Linked DNA regions of Homo sapiens: all the other regions are linked to region 1. Evidence: promoter capture Hi-C in 16 types of primary human blood cells and fetal thymus (Javierre and others, 2016). All regions are on one chromosome and are shown on one strand. Each heading gives the region's core, a stretch centred on a gene start or on the middle of the fragment in contact. The rest is flanking DNA. Distances are from core to core; before and after follow the strand shown. Region 1 holds the start of MDGA1 (MAM domain containing glycosylphosphatidylinositol anchor 1). Region 2 overlaps BTBD9 (BTB domain containing 9). Region 3 overlaps BTBD9 (BTB domain containing 9).

Region 1 (5,049 bases), core at 2,275-4,774:
AGGCGAGCTAGTGGCAGGAGGAGATGGGAGAGCTTTCTAGTAACATGCTCTCACAACAAACCGCAGTTGCCCTGCTTGCTCAATGCCTGGAGCCCCTGGTTCCCTGGCCCCTGGCTTGTGGTCAGCAACGAGTTCCTGAAACCTCCTGGGGCCCAAGTGCTAGGTTTTCTTTGAGGCAAATATATATATATATATATATATATATATATATATATATACACACACACATATATATATATATATTTTTTTTTCTAGTGGGAAGTGACCTAGAATGATCTTGAGTGGAACCGAAGACTTGGCAGCTGGGTGCTGACCACCAAGCCTCCAGATAGCCTGACCTCAGGCTCATCCTGTGCCCTATGGCCCATGTCAGGTCTAGCAGTCTAGCTCTCATGTCCCCCCTGCCCTTGGTGCAATTTGGGGGCCAGAGTATTGTTCTCTGTGTCTGTAAAGGGAACAGGAAACAGTTCTTGTGGAAACATTATTTGATACCTAGGCCCTTGCCCCTCTTCAGTATAGAACAGTGGGAGAGGGCAAGGTCGCCGAGCCAAGCTACTGAGGTCAAAGCTCAGTTTGGCCCCTTAGCAGCTGAGTGAGTCACTACATCTTCCTATGTCATTCCATGAGAATAACAGCCCTGTCTTACATAATGGTTATGAAGATTAAATAGTTAATACAGTGCCTGGCATGTGGTGTCAGCTGTTATTCTTATTACTCCACTTCTCTCTAGGAAGACAGGGATCTTACCTAGTTTACATCTGGGGAAACTGAGGCCTAGAGAGGTTAGGACTGGGACGCAGGACTGATGTCTAGGGCTCTTTCCCTTCTCTGAGGTTGCCTCCCATTGTCAGACACTGGGCTGTGTTGAGGCAGCAGGCAGGGCACACTTGGGGGAGGAGACAGCTGAATTTACAGACACACACAAACAGGCTGTCAAGGTATTTACACTGCATACAATTAGCTGCAGAGTATTCACAAGTGGATTAGCTACAGCAAATGTTCAATCCCAGCCTGGCTAACTTGGTCCTCTGTTCCCCCCACCCCGCCATCATGAACCTTCTTTCTCCTCCAGGCTAGTGTGTGAGTTTAGAGAGGGCAAAGTCAAGAGAATGTCAGCTGAGTCAGTGCAGTTCTCTGTCCCCAGTAACTCACCCCAAAGCCAAAGAGGAGCAATTGACTGCTGTTTGGTGTTGGAACAGCTAATTGGAAAATCAGAGCGCAGTTTCGCACGACATGGAGAAGTACACATTCAGCTCAGAATGGGCAAAGCCAGGAAGAGCCACAGTCGCTGTGATCACTCCCTGAGAGCTTCCTGGAAGGGGTAGAGACTTCCAGGAACCCTCTAATAATGGGAAGAGGATGACAATAGAAGAAGCTATCCCTCATCACTCCCTCAATTGGCACCACTTCCTTTTCTGACTGGATGGGGGAGGCGGGAAGAGGCATGGTGGCTGTGTATCTCTGTGGGACAGAAAATGAATTTTTTGCCTTTGAGGTAACAGTCCGGGGCTGGGGAGTGAAAGGATGGCTACCCTGAGGGTATCCCAGGTCTGTGATATCTGGCCATGATGGGCATCATTCGTGAATTCACTGAACATGTCTGCAGCTGGCATCTGCTGGGAGCACCGCACTGAGTCTGGACTTCCTATCAGCCTTGGACCCACGGGGTAGAAAGGAGAGAAAAGACGGAAGAGGGCACAAGGGAGGCGCAAACGAGTGGAGGTGGGCTAGAGAATAGGAATCTTCGGATGTTCTCGGGCTTCCTGAGATGGACAGAAAGGGGGCTGAGAAAGGAAGGTGGAACCCCCCCATGCCACCAGGCACTTCCCGACACCTCCCGCTCCTCTTCCAGCAGTCAGGAGCGCGCGCTCCGGTGGGGCTTAAGCCCTGGAGAGTCAAGGGAGGAGAGACCCAGCAGGAAATGGGCCTGGGGAAGGGACGGTTCATTATTATTATTTTAAAAAAATTTATGTTTCAATTTATATGCAGACTAACCTTTTTGGAGTGTGGAGATCTTTGAGTTTTGACAAATGCATAGAGCCGTGGAACCACCATCAAGATATTGAGCAGTTCCAGGGGGCGAAGGGAGGGGGGGTTCGTAGTCTCCCCGCTTGTTAGCTGCTGCGATTGTCTGCGCTCCCACGGGCCGACCTAAAACAATTCTTGCGCACACGCTGAGATAAATAACGGCGACAGGTGGAGCAGGTGAGATTAGCAGGACCCGGGTTGGGCGCGGGGCGGGATCGGAGGCGCGGGGGAGGCCACCAGCCTCGCTTGCCAGCCTACGCCCCTCCCCGCGGGCGTTTGGGAGGAGCGTTCTCCGCACTCCTGCTCCGCGAGGGCCCCTTCGAGGCGGCTGAGACCCGAGTGCCGGACTCCCGCCGCTGGAGCGGGGCTCGGGTTCGGCAGCCGGAAGGAGGTGTGCCCCCGGGGCGCTTGGGGGCGCCTGAGGTCCCGAGGGGAGGCAAGATGGGAAGAGTGGCTAGCCGAGGAAAATGTGGGGTGACTTAGGGAAGCTCTGGCGGAGGGGTCGTGCGAGCAAACCTGTTGGCAACCTGTGGGCCGCGGCAAGGGCAGGAGCTCTCAGCGCGACCTCTCCGCCAGCTGCTCCGGCCCGGCCCCAGCACCAGACGCCTGGAAAGGGGCGGGGGCCTCTCGAGCCGGGCAGACAGCCTTGCAGACCCACAGCCGCGGCCCGTCTCGCGCGGCTGCAGGACCCCAGGAACCGCAGGCGCCCGGCCTTTCCCTAGGACCCCCGCTTCAGTCCCGCCTCCCCAAAGTGCAAAACATTTACGAAGTGTGCAGTGCCCTGCGGGCATGGGTCTCCGAAGCGAGCGGCCGTGTTTGCCCCGCGGGCTGCTGGCAACGGTGCACCCGGCTCGGCCAGCTAGTCTGGGTGTGCAAGGCTGGAGAACAGCGAGTGTGCGAGCGCGCGGCTGCAGAGCCCCCGCCGAAACCCAGGTCCCTCCGCCACTGTCCTCGGGATAGATGGATCCATTTCTGCTTTCTGACATTTTCCTGCTGGGCGGGGTTGGGGGGGAATGTTAGGGGGCGGAGAGAGGAAGAGAGAGAGAGGGAGAGGAGAAAGGGAAAGAGAGGAGAGGAGAGGAAGGGAGAGAGAGCGAGAGGGAGAGAGAGAGGAGAGAGAGAAGAGAGAGAGAGGAGAGAGAGAGAAAGAGAGAGAGAGAGAGAGAGAGAGAGAGAGAGAGAGAGAGAGAGAGAGAGAAAGAGAAAGAGAAAGAGAAAGAGAAAGGCAGGCAGTCAGCTTCCCCCAGCCCTGTTTTGTTTTCTCTAATTGGTCCTGGGGGAGGCGAGGAAATTGGACAGAGGCTGGGCCAGGCGAGCTGGGCTGCCTTTAATTGGCTCCTTTTTTTAACTGGAGGGGAATCAAACAGGAGAGCGAGCGACAACGGGTGGGAGAGCGAGAGACCGAACGAGGAGACGCGAGGAGGAGGGAGGAGGAAGAGAGGGAGGGAGGCGGGAGGAGCGCGGAATGAAAAGCTCGGAGGGGCGAAAAAGCAGCACAGCAAAGCCCAAGTTGCTGAGCGAGCGGAGCGCTCCCGCGGCCCGGAGCCGAGCGGCCGCCGCGCCCCGGAGCCCGGCCCGGCCCCGCCCGCTCTGGGCCCCCGCAGGCCAAGGCCGCCGGGCGGGGGCGGGGACGACCAACTTGGGGCGCGGCGTAGCCCCGCTCTCCCGAGAGCTCGGAGCCCGGGAGGGCTACGGCCGCGGCCAGACGGCGGGAGAGGAGCGCGGCGAGCGGAGGCGGCGAGCGGCGCCCGCGCCGCAGCCCCGGCCTGGGCGAGAGCGCGAATATTTTTCAAAAGACTCAAACTTTCCTCCTTTCCCCGTTTTCTGGGGCCCTTCTTGCCTGGAATTGCTCTCCAGATTCCCGCGGGGCGCCGGGCTGCTATTCTTCCCCCGGGTTTATCGGCGGCTCGGCTAACTTCACGGACCCGGGGACCCGCGGCGCTCGTCCCTCGGCCGAACCCAGCCCGCGCTGCTCCCCGGATCAGGAGGGCCGGGCCCGGGGCTGCTTCGCCGCCGCGAGTGCTTTCAGCCCGGCCCCCTGGAGTCGGGCCGCTGAGCCCACGGCAGCGGCCGCAGGACTGGAAACAGCAGATTGATTAACTCGAGCGGAGCCCCGGCCTCCCCGACTCCGCTCCGCTGAGGGGCGGCCCCAGTGCGGGGAAACGACAAGTTTGTCAGTCGTCCGTGGCCTGTTGGATCGAAGCGCCGCCTCCGCCGCCGAGAGGTCCCCGGCGCCTAGCATCCCGCGCGGACGGCCCTGGGTACCCGGGGCGGCTCGGCGGCCGGGCTCCTCGGGTCGGGGCGCTGGCTGCTGTGCCGGGCGCGCCGAGGCACCCGGGGCTGGGCCAGCGCCCCCTGCGTCCCCACGCGGGCAGCGGCCCCGCCGGAGGAGAAACACGGGTCGCCGCCACCTCCGCCTCTTCAGTCTCCTGGTCTTCGTCGCCGCTCTCTCTCTCACCTCTCAGGGAAAGGGGGGGACATAGGGGCGTCGCGGGGCCCCGGCGAATGCGCCCCCCGCCGCCTCTCGGGCTGCGCCGCCTCGCGGGGATGAAGCACCGGCCGTGAAGATGGAGGTGACCTGCCTTCTACTTCTGGCGCTGATCCCCTTCCACTGCCGGGGACAAGGAGTCTACGGTAAGAGCCCGCGTCCCGCTCCACCTTGGCTTAACCTCGCGCGGAAACTTTGCAAGAGGCGCAAAGTGCGCGCTGCCGGGGTTTGGTGGAGACCTCGACTCGGACTCTGGAGTGGATGCCCGCGTCCCCGCCCTCTCCAGGGCGCGTGGAGACCGAGCTAGCTGCTTCGGAACACAGGGGCCGGTCGTAGGGTCTGGTGGGAAGCCGGGATGTCAGGAGGAGGCACCCACTTTCCCACACCCTGCTAGAGGTGGGAATGATTAGGAACCCTTGAGAGCACCCGGTCGGCTCGGGAGACCCGGACAGACCCAGTCTAGGACTGGTGCAGCGACTTGCACCGAAACCTCGTCCTGGCTCGGCCTCCGGAGTGGAAGCCAAGCGATGCAT
Region 2 (5,049 bases), core at 1,238-3,737, 870 kb before region 1:
TTAACAACCGGCCTATCTTTGTATATGTCTAGGAGTTTTCATATATTTTGGTTGGTAAAATATATATAACATAAGATTTGCCACTCATCTATCTTGTCAAATGTAATTCAGTCAGCATTCACCTCACCAAGATAGTCGATGTTATCTAATGGCAGATAATATCAGGCTTCAAAGCCAGTGTGAACATTCCAACCATGATAATGAACTCAGAGCAATGGTTCGCTTTGCCTTTCTGGACTCATTTTAGGAATGTTCGTGAGTTAAGTGGGGATTGCTCTATGTAGCCAAAAGCTTAGACCAGTTATCCTCTTCAGCCTTTAACTGGAGATGGAGAAAAGTGACTCATCAATTTATGTTTAGTTTTTCATATGCCTTGAGAACCATGTTATGTCTTATCAGCCTTTTCTTTCTCAGGAAAGGCAATTTCCGCTTTACCCATAATCTGTAACCTTCAAATTGTCTTCTTGGTTATCTGGTAAACTCTCTCCCAGTCCTTTCCACAGCTTTCTTAGATGATCGAGCCTAGTACTAAACAGAAAACACTAGTAATGAATGGTGGATATTGAGTACTCTGGGGGGTGCTCTTAAAATTTTGAGCTATTCCTCAACATGGTGCTGTTAATTTGGCAGCCATATAATATTGCTGAAAAATGAGAAAACTTTAGAACATGAGCGAAAATGGATAGAAGTAGAATTCAAAGTGTGCATGTGACTGGTGGCTGGAATTGCAAGTGGGATCTTGGTCTAAAACCTGGGAGTTGAGAGAGAAGAAAGCAGGGCTAAAAGCAACGTTCTCAAGGTTATGCCCGTTGAGAGAGGGAACAAGAGCGTAGGTGGGAGAGGTATTTACTTCAGGGGCTGGTCAGAGTTTAGAGGAGGATTAGGAGCGTTGTTTACTGGAGACAAGGCCAGACAGGGTGTTGAGATGGGTGTAAATTGACAATTTAGAGTCTGGCATAGGAGAGATGAACTTGGTTAATACAAAACGGTTTCTTTCTTTATTTCCTTTTTTAAAAAATTATCAAAATGGAAATATCTCTCATTATAAAGTTATAATGTATATATTTTAAATATTGATAAAACTTGCCATCTGGAAATGTTGTACTCAATTTCTACCAATTGCATGTAAAAATGCCCCTTTCTGTGAACCTTCACCAATGCAGACACTGTCACCGTTTTGCCAATGTAATACATAATTTGTTTAAAACAAAAATCCTATTTTACTTTGAATTTCTTTATTGGTGAGTTAAAGTATCTTTTAATACTGGCCATTTGTTAATTTCTTATTTATGAAAAGCCTGTTTTTGTCTTCTGCATATTTTTCTTCTGAGATAGTTTTCTTTTTGTCTTGTGAGAACTTTGTATCAATACATATATATATATGACATTATCCTTTTGCCTGTCATATATGAAATTTGTTAACGCATTTTTAGTGTTTTATTGGTACTTTTTGCCATATAGAATTTTACTTTTTAAAAAATGTATTCAAATCTGTCAGTCTTTTAAATGATTTCTGGCTTGGTATTATGATTAGAAGATTATTCCTCACTCTAATATTAAAGTATGTTAAACTTTTATGTATATATATATATTTTTTCCACTACTTGTTTTTTTTTTTTAAGCCTTATATCTTAAGTATTTAATACAGTCAGGATATTTTGCATAGATCTTTTCAGGTAGGGATAGTCAGTTGATTAAAGTCATTTATTTGATAATCATTTCTTGCTATCCTAATGTGATCAGCCATATTTATGATGAGCTGGATTCTAGCATATACCCTACTCAGTTCCACTGATTTCTTTGATTCTTGCTGAAAGTATTTTAATTATTGTAGTTCACTTCCCTCCTTTTTCTTCTTTTCTTAGAATGAGAAATTGTGTGTGCCATATGTGTCATAGAAAAAAGAAAGGGTATCATAGAGCATCTGCTAGGCTGTCTTCTGGTTGTTGTAGTCACATTAGAGGCCGTAAGTGATGATAAACATCTCACTAGAATGGTTCTACTTTCACTTACAACAGGAAATTTAGGCATGCTTCACCAGCTAAGGAAATAGATTTTATGTATTCATTCGTCACTCACCCATTCAACAAATAAGCGCCTACTTTATGCTATTGTTGTACTTGATATTGAGGCCACAACACTGAAGAAGATTGCCAAGGTTTCTGTGCTTTTGGAATTTGGGAGAAACAGATTAAAACAAACAAATAATAAGCACATCACATAATTATAAGTGTTGCAAAGATGGTACTGTGATAGTAACAGAAGTCAGGGGAGAAGGATTATTTTAAATAGGATGGTTAGAAAAGGCCAGAGATGGGGGGTAGGTGTTTTAAGCTGAGATGAAGGGGGTGATATTTTCTGGTCATTGTTTTATTTGTTTTTGGTTTTGTGTGTGTGTGTGTGTGTGTGATTGTTTCTTTGTTTTTTAGATGGGCTTGCTCTGTCACCCAGGCTGGAGTGCAGTAGTGCAATCTTGGCTCACTGCAACCTCTGCCTGCTGGGCTCAAATGATTCTTCTACCTCACCCTCCTGAGTAGCTGGGACTACAGGCATGTGTCACCACACTCAGCTAGTTTTTTCTATTTTTAGTAGAGATGGGGCCTTGCCATGTTGCCCAGGCTGGTCTTCAACTCCTGGACTCAAGCGATCTGACTGCTTCAGCCTCACAAAGTGCTGGGATTACAGGTGTGAGACACCATGCCTGGCCCATTGTTTTAGATATTTACACAACATCTAAATATTTTCTTTGGTGTACATTGAATGTTATTTGGCAGTAGCTGGTCTACTGTGGGAGACCTCATTAGAGGAATACTCTAACTTTACTGTGTTTTGGTATATGGCATTTTAATCTCATTTATTGCTACTATACATTCTAGGCCCCCCTCATTCCTGGTGTCAATAGATACAGCATAATTTTTTTTCACCTATTCTCATTAGATTATAGTACTTACATAGTGCTATAGATCTACATAAAATAAATGAGAAAATAAGCATTGCTATTTATGGAAGCATTCTTTCCCTGCTATATTAACACTTGTATAACATATGTCTTCTTTCATTTCTCTTTTGTTCCCTACACCTCTGCCCATAACTGGGCATTGATGTATCTATTTACTTTTAAAGGTAGACACTCTTACATTATTCAGTGTTCACTAGATTGCTTTAGAATCCTAGCTAGAATAATACTGAGCCTTTACTTTCTTCTTATGACTGAAGAGCTTCACAATTCAAGAAATGCCTTATTCAGATGTAAAAGAAACAGGATTAGTTTCATTTTTTAAAAAGTTATCTTTTTAGTTCATACTTAGTTTGAGTTGTCCATCTACCTACAACCTTGATATTACAATTGAACTAGCAAGAGCAACCCTCATAGAGGAACATTTTCTTCTAAGAATGCAAAGCAAAGTGTAGCCACATGGTGTCACTAAATTATAACAATTTTACTCGAAGCTAAAGAGAATTTAAAAATTGCTTTTTTACACCATCATATTTAAATATAAATTGTTCTGAAAGTCTGTGATTTGTGAAATAACATGTGAAACTATTTGTACTATTTAAGTCTTTCTGCTGATGTGGAGCGTTAATTATGTCCAAAGTCCAGAGGTATATATTTTGGTGCTTGCTAGCTAGTTCTTGAGTTGTCATCTGCAAGGCATAGGAGAAATGTGGGCTTCTGTAGTCCAGCTATTCAGTTTCATGCAAATATATATATTTTTTAACCTTCCTTTGGAATTTTGAAAGAGAGGAGTAACTCAAAGGAGATAGGAGATAGATTCTCTAAATATGTAAAAGGAATCAGAAAACAGAAGAAAAGAGGAATGAGGATAAAGAGAAATGAGGTTACAGGACCTCAGAAGTGGTAGGAAGGGAACAGTCTAACATTTATTGAGTATCTTCTGTGGGTCAGGCACATCTCATTACCTTGTGTAATTCTTACAATAGTCCTGTAGGAGAAAAACCGCTACTTAATTTTATAGGTGAGGAAATTGAGCCTTAGAAAAGCTAAATTTGTAACCAGGTCTGCCTGACTCCACATTACATTGCTGATGCAAGAATCAAGGTAAAGAAATAGCTCTACCTTAGAGTAGGAGAAGGAGGCATTGAGCCCTGAAGAAGCTCTTACTACCTCTTTGGAAGGAGCAGTTTCCAGCAATCCTGTAGGGGAGGACCTGCTGTGGCCAAATTCTACTAGTGCTGGTCACAGCCACCCAGACTACACACACATTATACTAATAATGATGATGAACAACCGGGGATATTTTCTGTTTTAAAATGCTCCAAAGGGAGTGCAGCAATCCTTTATCTAGGTATGTTTTGTCAGTTTGTTTGTAGAGCTTCGAATTTTCCTGCCCCTTAGTTCTCCATAAGATCATTTTAGAGTATTATTATAGAGTGAACCTAATATTCTTGAATCCTAGCTTGTTTTCATTAAACTGTGTTTAGAAACAAATTCCATATATTAGGAAATTTTTATTTACAAGATCTCTTCACACCTTGAGTTGCTTTTTTTTTTTAGTTGGGAAATTTTCTGTTTATTATTTTCATCTAGAACCCTTTTATTAGGGGGAAAACACAACAACAATAGCAAAAAAATCCCCCAAAACCCCGCCATGTTTTATATTCAGTAAGACCTTTGAGAAATGACTGTTTGTCCTTAAGTTATTCAATTGAATCCAAGCTTCTTTGTTTTGTTTTGTTTAGAGGATAATAACATGTTGAGCTTCTTTTGTGTGAGAAAACAGAACAGGATTGCCCTTTTCCTTTGCATTGTATTTTATAATTTTAGAATATAAATTAGTGTCCTAATAAGCTTATTGCATGAGATGATGTTACTAACATTAATCACCTGTTGTTATTACCACAAATAGCCATTGCCTGTTTTTCATTCTGAAAGGGCAAAAACTATATTTGCCTCTGCTAACAGTTGCTTCCCAAGCAGTTAGGCCCAGGATTAAGTTCAGGTAGCACCTTCTATGTTGATCATCAAACATCTTTTTTCTCATATTTTTCTTCTGAATACTACTTTATTACTTATGGGATTTATTCATT
Region 3 (5,049 bases), core at 1,009-3,508, 780 kb before region 1:
TTCTGTTTTGCCTCTCCCTACTCAATGGGATTTCCATTGTTTCTGTCTTCACTTCCTTTTACCTGGGAGAAGCTGATACTGATGGAAAGGCATTTTTGAGTCTAGATATAAAGCTCTTTGTTTAAAGAGCATTTTTAAAAGAAGGGAATTTTTACATTGCCAAAGGTACCCAGGTGTTGCCTTCCTTCCCCATGAGGATTTTGCACAGAGCGCACATTCATACCCACTATCTCTTAGTGTCAGCCTGTGTGATGGCTATATGCTGTCTACCAACACTACAGTCTGTTTGGGAAGCGCCAAATCTTGGGTAGGCACTGGATCTAAAACTGGCACTGGAATCATCCACTCAGAGGAAGAAAGATTGAGGTCAGGTGGGGAATAAGACAGGCAAGTTGTCAGGCTTCTTTTCAGATGGTTCTCAGAGTACACTTCCATTACTTAGAACAGTGGGTTTGGTGGGGGGTTTTGGCGTGTTCTATAGCTGAGCTACAAGCAAAATTAGAGCTTTTTACTTATATACTACTTTGCATGGAGGTAGTCTCAGGGTCCCAGTTACAGCACTGATTTCTTGAAAAGAGTTTGATGTTCTGGCCCATGCTTAATTTAAATGAGAGGCTAAAAGCAGATTGTGTAACCCACCAATGCCCATTTGACAGGACTTGCACCAATCTGACCTACACTTTCATAAGAGCTCCTAAGCAGAGTGCTGTACTGTGGGTCTTCTGCCTTAACTCCAGGAATGGCAGAGATGAGCTACTGTTTATTGAGCACCGACAAAGGAGAGGTACTCTGAGTGTTGAATGCATGCTGTCTCTCAGCCCACAAGAGCCCTGCAAAGGAAGTGCATTGCTCCCCGTATTTATGGATGAGGAAGCTGAGTATCAAGAAGCTTGCTCAGAATCATGCAGCTAGCAAGGAGCAAGGCAGGGTTTCAGAGCTACGTTTATCTGTTTCCAAAGAGTACACTCTCCCCTCAATTCCCAGTAGTACTTCTCCAGTAAATCTTAAGTATTGTATTGCTTTTTTCCCTTCTATTTCTCTTAGCAGTCTATAGAAAAGAGCGTTTATTTAAAGATTTTAGTGCTCATCTGGGCATAGTGACTCATGCCTGTAATCTCCACACCTTGGGAGGCCGAGGCAGGAGGATCGCTTGAGCCCAGGAGTTCCAGACCAGCCTGGGCAACATGACGGAACCCTTTCTCTACCAAAAATACAAAAGTTAGCTGGGCATGGTGGTGCACACCTGTAGTCCCAGCTACTCAGGAGGCTGAGGCAGCGGGATTGCTTGAGCCCGAGAGGTGGAGGTTGCAGTGAGCCGAGATCACGCCACTGCACTCTAGCCTGGGCGACAGAGCCAGATCCTGTCTTTTAAAAATAAAAATAAAAATAAAAAAAGATTTTAGTGCCCCCTATAACTTGAGGCTTGGATTCTGAAGTGAAAGTTGTTGTTCTGAGAGGTGTTGATTGAGCAGTAGTAATACCAACTACATCAGTGGGACTTGGTGGCCCAGTCACACGGATGCAGTCAGAAAGGGAGTGTTACCTCATAAAGCAGTGATTCAAGCCTGGGCTTGGATTTTAAAATGTTGGAAAGTTGTGAAGAAATGGGATTTTTTTTTTCTTCCAAAGATTGTAATAACTTTGCCATTGTACCATTAACATAGTCACCACCTCATGTTTGTCATGTAACCAATTTATGTTTTTACTAACATTGAGGAAATGATTTTTTTTATGCTTCCTCCTTTCTATCTTTCAATTTTTTCCCATCTACACTGTGTGGATTATCAGATAAACAGGAAGGTCAGTGCTCGCTTAACCAGGGTTTGGCCAGTGCTCAGTGGGTGGGAAGCCGTCGGGAGAGGAGCTGGAGGGGTTGTGTGTCTGAACCCCTGTGCTCCACATTGGGCGCCTGTCAGGTTCCACTGACTTTTCATTGTATATTTGGAAACTCTTTCATAGCCAGAGCAAAGCCCAGGGAAATCTCTCCTCCTGTGGTGTTGGTCGCGTTCTTGTAGTTTCCATTTGATAACAGCATAGTTTACAGAGAACTTTTTGAGCTTTTGGAGAACTCCTGAGACTTATTTTGTCTTTGCCTGCAGCCAAAATAATTGAAGCATTGTCAGTCTATTTCAGCAGCACTTCTTCAGGTAGACTGTGATACTATTTGGGATGTTCAGATAGACCAAAGAGAACACAGATTGTAGCTCCTCCTGGAGCTATAATCCTGGTTTTATATATGATAAAAGTGAAATGGAATTTTAGCTCACAAGACATACCAAGGCGACTTGGTCATTATATAGTAGCAGCCTCGCTTATAATTTCCAGAGTTTCCTCTGAGTTTTAATCTGGCATTTGTTTCTTCCCTTCTCCAAGGAAAACAGGAGTTCTTAGCTCTTCCCTGTAGCTTCTGAAATAAATTCACACAGAATTTGAAGGCAAGTGAAGTAGGTCAGAATCCTTCCGGAAGCCAAGAACCCACTTATCTTCCCTCCTTTAGTTTTCTGTTTTGTCTGCCCATGCACATTTCCTCTTAGGTCCTCTAAGGAGAGTATGGGAAGAAAGGGAGTCAAATTCAATGATGCAGAAAGGGTCAGAGAAAGTGGTTGTAGATGACTGATGAGATTTGACACCATCCTCACTGCCGGCCATGTAATTCTCTAAAAAAAATAGGAGACAAGATAGAGATAGTCAAATCATACTAATAAACTATTTTTCAAGCATCCACATGCCCAGAGATGCTTAAAAGACCAGTAAATGGATGTGTCAGATGATATATATGAGTAAGCTAATATGATAGTCAAAATCAATAAAATAAAACCAAAATATTTTAAAGGTGGCAAAGCTCATGAGAGCCCAGTACTCAGAAATATATAACCTTCCTTTGCACATGTTTCTCCTCACATATATACGCACGTAATCAGAGACTGGTGGTAAAATTTTTAAACTTCTGACCCCCTCCCCCTTCCTGGTAGGAAGCAGTTGAGGGAAAAGAGAGGAAACAGCATGTATTGACCACATGCTGCTTCCTCTTAGGCACTCACACATGCTTTTTGTCTTACCTAATCCTGTATAACATCCCTGTGGCAGCAGGGGTATTCTCATTCTTACAGATGAAGAAATTGAAGCCCAGAGAGGTTGCACCGTTTTTAAAAAGTGATGGGGCCAGATTTCAAAAACGGGTTCACCTGACTCTAAAGACCTTGTGTGAATTGTCTTTCCACTAAACCATGCTGCCTCACCACAGAGCCACTGATGGCTTTACTTGATGTGTTCGTGGCATCGTTGCTCAGTTTGAGTTAAGTGAGTAATTCTTAAATGACTCGAGGATAAGAAGACCTCCTGTAGAGGCTTTACAAATTCAAATACCCCCAGTTCGTATTGCTTTCATCCTCGCTTTCTTAACTATAATCAGCATTGATTCTTTCCTATTCCCTGATAGCATTAAGTTATGATAACACTAGGGTGACAGAAAATAAAATCAGCAAATATAGATACTGCTCGTTAGCTCAGTAAAATGTGAGAATTGGCAATAAAGTAGGTCTTATCTAAAAGGTATGGATATAAATACAAAGCACAGGATTAGAAGCATTTCAGATAAAGATAACTCTGTTTGCTAAACAAGCTTTTTTAGGTATAAAGGAAAAGACAGTCTTGCTTCTGAGCATCTTATTGTAAGCATGATTCTGCCCCTGGCATGTCCTGTAGATGAGAGTTTGCTCTTACAAAATAAGCCCTGTCTATTCAATTGTATTTCGATGTTACAGCTAGCACATAGTAGGTACTAGGTAACACTTAGTTGAAGTGAATCGCTCTTAGTCTCTAATAAAATGTCTTTTAACTACTTCATTTTGCTTCTGTTCCTTGTACATCTGGATTACTTTACTCTCCTCTAATTTTGATTGTCATCCCCAGTAATTAGAGAAAGAAAGCGCAGATTAAGCTTTCTCATTTCATTTCCCCAACTTCTCCCTCAGTGGAATTCATGCCATTTCAGGAGCTCTTCCCTTTTAGGATAGACATCTGTCTTTGTGATGCATCCCCTGGTCCTCAGCCCTTATTAATCTTCAGAACCCCACCCATCCCAGGTGTCACCTCTCTGAAGCCTGAATGTCACTGGCAGGGCCCCATGTAGTGTTGTTGCTGTCCTCACTCCCTGTGCATATTTTAAAAATCAGTTAACAAAAGTTTCTATTTAAAAGCTCCAAGGGAAAATTAGGTATAGTAATAACATTTTCCTATGATTATTTGCCATATTGGCATTGAGGCAGAGAAATCTGTTAGAAAAACTGTTTGCTCTTTTCCCATGTGTCTATACTGAATAATATAAAGCTGGATACGCTGTCTCTATTCTGAAGCTGTCATGTGTTATAATAACTGGTTTGACACTTATTATCTTTTTTAATGCAAAGAGGAAATTGTCAGAGTTCACAACAGTAAAATAGATCCTTTGTTATTTGTATTATTTTTACTTGAAAGTATTTTTTACTGTCTTTGCCTTGATAAAACTGAAGTTTATATGGTAAAAGACGACGACATGACATGAAATGCCAGAATTTGGACAGTATCAGAGCAAAGCAGGATTCAAATGAATCATTAATTGGTATTTTTTAGAACCAATGTTTATAAGCAAAGCTGTCAACTCAAATCACAGCCTAACCTCATAGGATCTTAGAGCTTTATCAGAATAATTATTCATCAGTGACTTTAATATGTCTTCCTGGAGTTGTGAAATGTGTACTTTTCAGGCTGGCTCATAAGCACATGTTATGCACCCTGGCTTCACTCAGGTCTGCATTCATTTATTCCAAGGATGTGAGAAGGGAAGATGTAGCCTTACAAGTACACTGAATTATGCTTTTAATTTTATATCCCTGGGAGGAATTTGTGATCAGATGATTCTGGCCTTTGTGCTGTGCTGCCTTGAAAACAATTTTTAAAGTGTCTAACCGTTAAGCTTAAAAACTACTTTCATTTACTTCAGTGAACCTTTGATATTTAACGGTTAAATTATACAGAGTGAAAAACACAATGGCAACCCCAAATTAATTT

What was found. Contacts are between HindIII fragments. The CHiCAGO score rates a contact against its expected background, and 5 or more counts as called.
Region 2: a fragment that was not itself captured here is called in contact with the fragment with the promoter of MDGA1 in region 1 in 1 of 17 cell types (megakaryocytes); the score reaches 5.6 in megakaryocytes.
Region 3: a contact is called between a fragment that was not itself captured here and the fragment with the promoter of MDGA1 in region 1, in 1 of 17 cell types (monocytes). The highest score is 6.7, in monocytes.

What each region holds. Positions count from the first base shown.
Region 1 is chr6:37,696,358-37,701,406 of GRCh38, reverse strand. MDGA1 (MAM domain containing glycosylphosphatidylinositol anchor 1) reads left to right here and starts at 3,524. Exons shown (of 17, transcript NM_153487.4): 1 at 3,524-4,662. The coding sequence starts at 4,596. RefSeq lists silencers at 2,413-2,482, 2,503-2,572, 3,439-3,568, 3,589-3,658, 3,719-3,848 and 3 more and enhancers at 4,171-4,900, 4,901-5,049. The HindIII fragment of the contact is 24,309 bases long and covers 1-5,049 here.
Region 2 is chr6:38,569,335-38,574,383 of GRCh38, reverse strand. The region is part of intron 6 of BTBD9 (BTB domain containing 9); the gene reads left to right. Among named protein-coding and RNA genes, the nearest start is that of BTBD9, 68 kb to the left of the region's middle. The HindIII fragment of the contact is 4,387 bases long and covers 294-4,680 here.
Region 3 is chr6:38,476,066-38,481,114 of GRCh38, reverse strand. The region is part of intron 6 of BTBD9 (BTB domain containing 9); the gene reads left to right. Among named protein-coding and RNA genes, the nearest start is that of BTBD9-AS1, 3.0 kb to the left of the region's middle. RefSeq lists an enhancer at 3,206-3,729. The HindIII fragment of the contact is 2,733 bases long and covers 892-3,624 here.